Regions from separate parts of the Homo sapiens genome. Here all the other regions are linked to region 1. Evidence: promoter capture Hi-C in 16 types of primary human blood cells and fetal thymus (Javierre and others, 2016). All regions are on one chromosome and are shown on one strand. Each heading gives the region's core, a stretch centred on a gene start or on the middle of the fragment in contact. The rest is flanking DNA. Distances are from core to core; before and after follow the strand shown.

Region 1 (3,389 bases), core at 298-2,797:
TTTCCATGGAAGTCAGACAAAACGAAAAAATGGAAAATGAAACCCTTAAAGCAAAAACCAATCAAGTCTTCCAACACTGAAGTCAATATCCAAATCTCATACAGGACCAAAAAGGGGAAAACACTCAGGTCTACAAATGGATAAGCAGTTCCAATACAATCCAGATCCCGACATTTTCCCACTCAGAAACAAATGCAGTGGAGCTTTTCCTGGAGAAAAAGAGCTCTCCAATGAATTTTTTTTAAGTGACATCTAGAAAGTGTGCCTCTTTCTGTCTCTTTCCCTGGCGCCTCATTGGAGGAAGGAGGGGGTTGTTTTTGTATTCTCCCCCACTGGAGCAAGACACAATCAGATGTTAGATGGAGGAGAGAAACCACTTTTGACAACAGCAAATAAAAATAAAAGTGCCCTTCCTCCCCTGACAGGATGGGCACCCCACCTCACACACCCCTCCCTACTCCAACCCCTCCTTCACCCCCCCCAGCACCACCCCCTCCTCACCCCGGAGCTCCACTGCGTATGTGGTTTGGTGCTACTGTTGCCCCGGAGTGAAAGTCAGAGCCAGAGGAAGGCAATGAAGCCCCCACAGACACACTTACCTTTCCTGCCCCCCACTTTTGAGTGCCTTCCCTGGAGCTGTGGAGGATGACACAAAGGGTAATAAAGGGGGGGAGTGGAGGAGGAGGAGGCGAAGGAGGAGGAGGAGAGCTGGGGAAGTGGCTGCTCCTGGGTGTAGTGAGATGTCTCCAGCCAGGGCCAAGCAGCAGCAGTAGCAGCAGCAGCAGTAGCAGCAGCAGCAGCAACAGCAGCAGCAGCAGCAACAGCAGCAGCAAAGGGTCTGTGTTGCTAAGAGGCTTTTGGTTTCTTTCTCTCCTCCTCTCACGGCCAAAGAGGAGGAGGGTGGAGGGAGGGAGGCGAGTTGGAGGGGTGAGGGGGTAGGAGTCGTGGATGGGGGTTTTCGAAGAAGAAGAAACTCCTTCTCCTCTCTCAGGCTCAATCCCCCTCTCAGGGCTCAGGGCTGGAGGGTGGGGGAAGGAACTCAGCCGCCTTCCCCCCACCCCCCTGAATTCAAGGTTGAAGTGGGGTAGAATTAGTGTCCTGTCCCTTTAAAAATAGAAATAAAAGGTGCCCCCCCTCTGCCACTGCCTCTCTCTTCATCATCAGCTGCTGCTGCTGCTGGGGTCTCTCTGCTTGGGGGGGAGGGGGGGTTCGGGTAGAAGAGACGGGAGGCACTCACTGCGCATGTCCCTCTCTGACGGGTGGCTGGTTGGTTGAAGGCAGGAGGAGGGGGAGGGGAGGAAATGAGCTATTTTCCCAGAAGGCGTCGAGGCGCTAGCGACCCGGAAGACATTGTAGCGGGAGGTACAGGAGCGGGGGCGGGGAGGAGGAGGAAGTCGCTACGCTTTTAACACCCCCAGCTCCCTCCTCCTTCCTAAGGGAAAGTGGAGGAACGGAAGTGGGCGTGGACGGAGACGAAAGGAGGTCACGTGTTTGGGCGGGAGAGGGGCGGGGTGGGAGAGGTAGTGCGTGCGCGGGGCATGCCGGGAGTGGTTGTGTACGGTCCGCAGCGGCAGGTGAAGTCTAGCAGAGGACGCGGCCAGGCGATTCGGTGAAGCGATTCCTGCAGGCGTTGGTTCCCCTCTTTGACCTGGTAAATGCAGGCTTTTATGCGAGAGGTAATGGTGGGGGTAAACTTGCTGCAAACGAAGGCCAGGGGCGTCGGTGGCGCAAGGTGAATCGAAAGTGGGAGGATGGAAGGCTGTGGAGATTGGGAATTGGGAAGGGGGCAGGCTTGTATAGGCCGGGAAGGCCAGGACCAGGCGAGCTCCGTCTTGTGGCCACTCCCGCCCCGTGAGCTTGCCGAGGAATCCTTGACAAGTGCAGGGATCCTGAGTCTACCTCTGCATCGGGGTAGTAGGTGAGGAGCGTGACGGTCCGAGTGTAAGAGAGAAGGGAACTGTGAAGCCTCAGCAATTGACCCTCATGACTGCAGGACGGAGGACTTCTATCTAGGGACAGAGACAAGTCCTCTGTATGCATTTTGACCAGATGCATCACACGCGTTGCTCATATTGGATATTGCGCCCTTCATGCCTTACCTCTCAACCCTCCCTGGTATTCTGGAGTGGCTTTGGGGAAGGAGCAGGCAGGGAAGTCTTGAGTGGAGCTTCCCTCCATGTCTTGCGTTGTTGCTACAACACAAAGCCTTTGCTTTTTCTCGGAGAGGGATGTGGGATTGTGTAGTCCTTAATGTTGAGTTCTACGATTGATGAAGGAGAAGGGACGTGATCAAAGTTTCCCCTTATAGTGTAGATGAGAGTTTTAAAAGGACTGTTTTGTCAAGTTTCTTTGGTTACTATTCTTAGTTTTTGAGCCTTTGGTTTCCCAAATGCCAGCTGTTTTTGCTGAAAATAATGAATTTCTATCATAAAATTAGAATTAACTCAAAATATTTAAGAAAGGATTTATAAATTTACATTAGTAAAGCTTTTATAGTGAAACAGTGCTGGTTCTTTTTCATTGTTTTCATACAATCAATATAAAGCATCACAGTCTCAATATGTTTTGTAAAGATATTTTGAAGGAATATCATCTTTGTATGTTTTTTAAAAACCAAGAATCTAAAATTCTTCGTATTTATTATGTTGGTACTTAATTCTGTTGGGTGGGTTCTTTTTGTTTGTTTTTTGTTTTGAGACGGAGTCTCGCTCTGTCTCCCAGACGAGTGCAGTGGCGCGATCTCGGCTCACTGCAACCTCTGTCTCCTGGGTTCAAGCAGTTCTCCTGCCTCACCCTCCCGAGTAGCTGAAACTACAGGCATGTGCCACCACGCCTGGCTAATTTTTTTGTGTTTTCAGTAGGGACGGGGTTTCACCATGTTGGTCAGGCTGGTCTCGATCTCTTGACCTCAAATGATCCTCCCGCCTCGGCCTCCCAAAGTGCTGGGATTACAGGCGTGAGCCACCGCGCCCGGCCGGTGTAGGTTCTTTAGGTGTACACTATCAGTTAAAGTTACTAATTTTCCACGTTTTGCTTTCTGTAAGTTTGGGCAGTGGACCCCGTTTATGCATCATTGCTTAGCCCTTAGTATCTTCTGTATTGTGTACGGTAATCATGTCCGATGGAATCAAAACTAGACTCCTGTGCTTTAAAATTTTCTTTGTAGTGTAACCAATTGTCTGTCTTTATAGTGTAACCAATTGTCTGCCACTTTGTAATGAAAAAAAAAAATACCAGCAAGGCAGTTAATGTGCCTTAGCTACAATTTTAAATATTTTGTGTCTTTTTCCATACATTTAGTATTTAAGCATACAAACATCGATACATAGTATAATGAAAAACTATAAAGTGTGAACTCTATGTAAGCGCTGCCACAGTCAAGAACTAGA
Region 2 (3,389 bases), core at 461-2,960, 1.6 Mb before region 1:
TTACCATCTGTGTCAAATATACAGTCTTTTATAGTTGCCCATAAGTTCAATTTCAAACCTTTTTTTAATTGCATTCTTATACCTACCCTCACTGAATTTGTCACTCTTTGAAATATGTCTTTATTCCTTTGTTCCTGAAAGTCACTCATTGAAATGCACCTTTTCCCAAGCAAATTTTTACTGTATTCAAAATTTAGTATATCCTCCATGAAATTTATTACCTTTTCTCCCAAGGATTTCTTAACAATTATTCAGATCTTTTCATAGCATTTCACAGATGATTTGATATTTGTTTTTACATCTTTTTCACTAAACTGAGAGTTGCCAATGTCTGTGTGTATGTGTGTTTTTAATACAAATATCCGGATAGTGCATATTTTAGGCTTTGTGGGCCACAGAATATCTCTTGTAACTACTTAACTCTGCCATTGTCGTGGGAAAGTGACCATAGGCAGTACATAAATTAGTATGTCTATGTTACAGTAAAACTTTATTTACCAAAACAGTGGGCTGTATTGGGAAATCGTTCGCCAATCCCTGCATTAAATTGTTCTGACCCAAGTACTTTGTTAAAAAATTTATGAATGAAAGATTGTTAAAAAATTTATGAATGAAAGATATTTACACATTCATCCATTGTAATACATGACCTCACTGTCTAGTAAGTGAACATATAAGCAGAAAAAAATATACCACAAAGATACGTGCTGAAATGGAGAAAAGCAGACATTGCCATGAAACCACAATGAAAGGACAGTATGGGAGAGAATTAGCGCAATTTATAGCAGTAAAAGAAGAGAGAAAAGTTCGAAAGTAACAGATTTTGGTCCAAAGAGATGTCTTGAGAGTTCTTTATTGAGGATAGAAGAATCTTGTTAGTTGTGCTACCTTTTTAGTGTTGTGTCTAAATAAGACAACTTTTAGATGTCTATTCTCTCATGTGTGGCACTCTTGAATTCTAGCCTTTATTGAAAAGTACATAGGCTTTTACCCAAACTAACTTATTACTTGTTTTTTTAATTTTTATTTTTATTTTTAAAATTACAAATATATATAATGCTTTCATATAGTAGGTGTTCAGTAAAAGTAGAATAAATGTTGGTTTTAAAAGAACCTTGCAGTGTGAAGATTTGCCAGAGATTGTCTATGTAAGTATAACATTTATATTCAGAACAAATAGTTTTAATTTTGTGTCATTTCTAGGTGCTTTGTAACAGAGCCAGACTGGTTTCCTATCTCCCAGGATTTTGCTCTTTAGTTAAAAGGGTTGTCAATCCCAAAGCCTTTTCGACTGCAGGATCATCAGGTTCGGATGAGTCTCATGTGGCTGCTGCACCTCCAGATATATGTAAGTGAAAGTTGTTACTGCTTTACTTATAATTGTTTCAAAACATTTTTAGTTGTATTTTCCTCTAATATTTCTTCTTAAGGCTTAATGGATTTTTCTAAAGTTGTGTTTGTTCAGTTGAAAATGAATCACAGCTCTGCCTAAATATATTTATGTCAGAAAGCTACAGTATTGAAAAAAGAGTAAGTACTGGTTTCTAAAGCTTACTTCTTAAACTTTTCTTTCTGTCTTCAAACATAGAGTCTTCCCTGAAACAAATCTCCTTTTGGTCCTGTTAAACCATATTATTATTTCTTCCCATTCTTTGCTAGATTTCATAAATGTACCTTGTACTTTTTATGTGTTAGTGTTTATTGAACTTACCTGCTTTCTACAAAGTCTGTTTCTTCTAACCTGTTTGGTACACCACTACCATGCTAATCATTCTAAATTATTTTAACCATGTCCCTTTCTTGAAAAACCTGTTATCTTTCATTGCTTTCAGCAGTAGTTCCCAGACTACCTTCAAGCCATGAAGCTTTGTTCAAGGTTAAAAAGAAAAAGTGGGGGTAGGGGGATAGTCTCTGTGGTAGGTAAGTTTGAGAAATGCTACATGCCATATTCCTGCCTTGGAGGCTTATAAGGCACACTAAAATATTAAAGACTCTTAGAAACTTAACCTAATGTGTCCTAAAGATATTGGACATGGAATCCTTTTTTCATGGCACACATTACTTACAACGTAATTTAAGTTCACTTGAGCATTCAGAGCCTTCCATCCTGCCCAAGTTTTCTAACTCTCTGACTACTCCCCAATTTACATCACCTAAAGACTAACCATATATTTATAATAAATGAAAGATTTTGCCATTCAAATTATATAAGATGTTAGTATCTGGAATATATAAAGAATTTATAATAGATCAATAGGAAAAGATAACCCAACAGAAAATCAGAAAACAAAAGGACATGAATAGGCCTTTCACAGAAAACAAAACCTAAAATGACCAGTAAACATATGGTCAAATCCACTGCCCAAATCTACTATTAATATGGGATGCTTGTTTTCTGTAAAGAGAATCTAGGGATTGTTAGACTTTTAAAAACCATCTTGTTCAAAAATAGCTAACAGGTTTTCTCTTGGGAAGTGACTTGAGTAGTCATTAGTGGCTGTCTAGATAGAGCCTTGTTATTCAACATGATCTGCATCAGTATCATTTAGGAGCTTGTTAGAAATACAAAATCTTGAGCCCCACTCCAGACCTATTAAATCAGAATCTGCATTTAAACTAGATCCCAGATGTATCTTAAGTACATCTTTAGAGTTTGAGGGGCACTGGACTAGAGTGTTTATGTTGAGAATCTTGAGACGTTGTCTGGGTTCAGCAGGAAATGGTTCCATGATTGATGGGTGATGTATGTCCTAAGTGTGGAAGAGGGATATGGTGGCTCATGATCCAGGAATGAGACAGCCATGCTGACATGGCCATTCTCAGTTACTTAGTTCTCTGACAGGATATTTTTAAATATCTATTTTTATTGCTAAGTAATATGCATAGCAGTTGTCCCTCTGTTTCTCTAAGCCCAGATCTCTACTCTGAGTAATTATTAGTTTAATTTTCTACTTTATTCTTTTCTGAATCTTTCTGAATTTTTTATAAGTTAGGATTTTTTTTAAAGTTTTAAGTGAATAAAGTAATGTGGTCTGTTCTATATTTGCAATCCATATTAACTCATGTGGCTGGTAAACAGAGCATTAGGTCATGTGATGCATGATTTTTTTTCCCGTTCGTATTTTGTGCCACCAGATAACAGCAGCAGAATGCCCCTCCCCAGACGACCATTACTAAGTTTCATTTTAGATCTTCTCTTTACTTAAAAACATGGGCCTGGCACAGTGGCTCATGACTGTAATCCCAGCACTTTGGGAGGCTGAGGGAGGAGGAGACCTTGTGTCTACCAAAAATAAACAAAATTAGCTGGGCATAGTGGTGTGCACCAGTGATCCCAGCTACTTGGGAGGCTGAGGTGGACCTCAGAGGTCAAGGCTTCAGTGAGCTGC
Region 3 (3,389 bases), core at 596-3,095, 1.5 Mb before region 1:
CTGTACAGGTTTTTAGCCTAGGAGCAATAGCCTATACTATTAGAACCCAGGTGTATAGTAGGTTATACAATCCAGGTTTTGTACACTCTTGATATTCACACAATGATGAAGTCTCCTAACTACCCATTTCTCAGAACATATCCCCGTAGTTAAGATATGCATGACCATAGTTTCAGACTAGTTTAACCTGTTTTACAATTGTAGCACTATTTTATCAGCACAATTGTGATAGTATATTTAATGAAATACACTGCCTGTCTCCCAAATATTGAATAGTACATATACTAAAAAAAAATTTGTATCTGAAATTCAAATTTATCTTAGTGTCTTCCTTTTTATATTTGCTGAATCTGGTGACTGTGTGAATGACAACATTGCTATCAAATGACAGTTATTTTTAATGGTAAAATTGTAGAGGGACTCAAAATTAAAAAAAATACTAAAGCCAAAAAGAGTACAAGCTTTGAGCACCCTAGAAAAGCAGCACTTCCCGGGTTAAATAGTGCCTCCATGGCTCATCAGTTTATAATTTCAGGTTGTTGCCTTTGAAGGTTCATGGTTACTGTTCATTAATTGCTATTTTATCTCTCCTGTTTGTTTTAAATTTGTGACTAAGATCTTCGACATTGAAATCAACAACAATTTTATAAGAATTTTATTTTTCACATCCCTTTTTGATTGCAGAAGGACATGAGGTCTATTCCTTGTTTGCTTACAGTGAATGTGACTTCATTTACCCTTGTTTAAAGTTATTTTAAATAATATGAACTCAATTTTCAGTGTCACACAATGTTGTCAGTTGCTGGATTTGTGCCCATTCAAACTGAGTTAAGTCACCAGTGGTCACAGAGGAGACTTTCTTCTGGTACTAAGTAAACAAGCTGAGAAAGAGAAAGGGAAACTATGTTTATGGCCGTGTAACTAAGTTACAGTAATAAGATTTGTCCTGTACGAAGCCTGGATGAGTTAAAATACCTTCTGAGTCAAGTGGTCACTCATGGGAAATAACTCTCCTGGGACACTGGAGCATGAATTAGTGATCTGAAGAGGCAATTAATCTCAAATGAATGAGCACTTGGCTTCTAGATTGCTCTCTATTTATGTTACAGTTTTTTTAGAATAAATGTAGGTTAACCTACAGTGTAGTTTTATGTAGATTAGCCAAAAGTCCATGTTAATTCAAGACAGTGTCTCTAAGAAGCAAAAAATATTTTAGCATATTGAAAAAAAAAACCTGCAAGTTGGTCATGGAATCTAAAATAGAGATACAACTAATATTCCTCTCAACAAATTAGGAGAGTCACAATAAAGCAAAAAAGAAGCAGTTTATTCTTTAGGGCTACCAGAACTCGTGGCCTGCTTCTTAAATTAATTCTGGCTTTCATTTTAAAGTGACATTTATTTTCATGGGCAAGTTAAAGACTCTGTAGAAGCCTACTATGAGAACCCCTTTTCTGATACTGTATTATGAAGGATAACTGAAAATCACTGAGATTAACTAATTCCATAAGTTGTATGAAAAAACTATTACAGTCATTTCCAATACTAGATCCCCAGTGTTGTAGGTACTGTTTAGTCCCAACCAGCAGAAAGAGCTATTGTAAGTCCAGGATTGCCTTTAGCTATTAGCTTTTCCAGTATGCCCCTCCATTTCAGAGTGAAAAATAACCTAATGCTACAATGAGTGTCCTTTTCATGAGCATATATATGTATTTCTTATTCATACATACACACACACACCCCCCTTGTGGACAAACCTTCTAACAACAAAATAGCTATATATTTGAGATATGTTATCTAATTTAAAATATTGCATTAAAATTTATTCACAAATGTGACTGTCTCAAATGGATAAGAACCTCTAATTTTGCACTTAGGATTTTGCCAACTTTATTGAACATCCTCTATATTTAAAAAGATAGGCTGCAGTGATACATTTGGCCAATAGGTGGCACCATTTAATTACCTTGAAATTCCTCAAATTTGAGGCTTGTAGTTTGGCCAAGAAAAAAAAAATTACCTTATCAATTCTGCATGTTTGAAATGTAAACCATTTAGAAAGAAAAGTTCCTGTACATTGATAATTACTTCATTGTTTTGACTTTTTAGAAACTAGCATTTTTTTCTAGTGCTATTTCCTAGATGCCATTACTTGAGCTATGAAATAGAAAATGAATGCCTGATGCAGGGTCATGTTGTTCAATCATTATACATGTAATTTTTATCATTTTTAAAATTGTGAGTTTCTAGAAAAGTATCAATCTGTGTCACAATACAATCTAGTGTCTTGAATCAGAAGAAAGATAAGGGAGCACTCCTAGGCACTTAGGGAAATAAGGCAAGAGGCAGCAAAAAGACCTGGTGTGAGATGGTCAAATTCTTTCTCACCAGCACGCAGTCAAGAAATCCTGGAATTGGGAGTACTGTGTTTAGTCAAAAGATCCGACATGATCTGAGATTTAAAATTAATTTTTAGTTGTTAAGCAATTATTTAGTGCCTCCATTCCTGCCAAAAAAAAAAAAAAAGCGGGGGGGGAGTGTGGCTCTGACATGAAAGCAAAAAATTAGTAAGGGTAAACTATTGAACTTTAGAAGTGTAGTAATGTATTATGGTGTTACAGAGTCATTAAAAACATACTATGTGAAATGCAGAGAAACTGCATGAAAAAATGAACCAATTCAATTTTGTCATGTTACTATGCAGTATTTAGAACAGACCATGGCAAAATCCAAAGTGTCTTGTGAATAGTAAAAGAAAACTCAAGATTTATAATTATTTTAATATTAAGAAATTATATTCTAATTATTTGAAAAGTTATGTGGGAATAGACACATTGAACTTCAAGGTCAAAGTAAGTAAGTAACATAACTTCACACAAATAATAGCCTTGTAGACAAGAAAAATAAAAGAGTATAAAAATATTGATTTGGGAGGTCTTAAAAATTGTCTAGTCCTGCCCTTTATTTCTTGGATGAGAAAACTCAAGCCTTGAAAAGTTTAATGATTTGCCCAAGGTTAGAATTGGCAAATCTAGAATACAGCTTTTCTGGGTCTTAGTCCATGAACTACTTCTTGTCTAATTGGCAATTTCTGATAATTCAGGTAAGTGACTTTAACATTTTATTTTTTATGAAAAAAATTTTTAATTACAGTATAGACTTTTATAATTCCATCAATTTGCATTACATGGTAATGTATTTGCAATGCAGTCTTAATTAGGAAGCTTCTCCACTCTGAAAAGGGAAACTCATTGTACTCTTTATTTGAGCAGCTCTGCTCCATTTATTGTATCGGTGATTATATAAATGGCAAGAAGTTCTGGCTAGTGGTAGTGCCAGGACTAATAAAGAAAGGTCTTTTGATATGATAAAATACTATATTTGCTCAT

Evidence for each region. Contacts are between HindIII fragments. The CHiCAGO score rates a contact against its expected background, and 5 or more counts as called.
Region 2: a contact is called between a fragment that was not itself captured here and the fragment with the promoter of ORC4 in region 1, in 5 of 17 cell types (total B cells, naive CD8 T cells, total CD8 T cells and 2 more). The highest score is 14.0, in total B cells.
Region 3: a fragment that was not itself captured here is called in contact with the fragment with the promoter of ORC4 in region 1 in 1 of 17 cell types (total CD8 T cells); the score reaches 5.8 in total CD8 T cells.

The regions. Positions count from the first base shown.
Region 1 is chr2:148,018,895-148,022,283 of GRCh38, reverse strand. It overlaps ORC4 (origin recognition complex subunit 4), which reads left to right and starts at 1,547. Exons shown (of 14, transcript NM_181741.4): 1 at 1,547-1,651. It overlaps MBD5 (methyl-CpG binding domain protein 5), which reads right to left and starts at 1,193. Exons shown (of 14, transcript NM_001378120.1): 1 at 600-1,193. RefSeq lists enhancers at 1,026-1,125, 1,305-1,902 and a silencer at 1,476-1,635. The HindIII fragment of the contact is 3,631 bases long and covers 1-2,489 here.
Region 2 is chr2:149,580,086-149,583,474 of GRCh38, reverse strand. MMADHC (metabolism of cobalamin associated D) reads left to right here. Exons shown (of 8, transcript NM_015702.3): 3 at 1,204-1,348. Among named protein-coding and RNA genes, the nearest start is that of MMADHC-DT, 5.6 kb to the left of the region's middle. The HindIII fragment of the contact is 315 bases long and covers 1,553-1,867 here.
Region 3 is chr2:149,560,039-149,563,427 of GRCh38, reverse strand. No RefSeq gene overlaps it. Among named protein-coding and RNA genes, the nearest start is that of MMADHC-DT, 26 kb to the left of the region's middle. The HindIII fragment of the contact is 2,763 bases long and covers 464-3,226 here.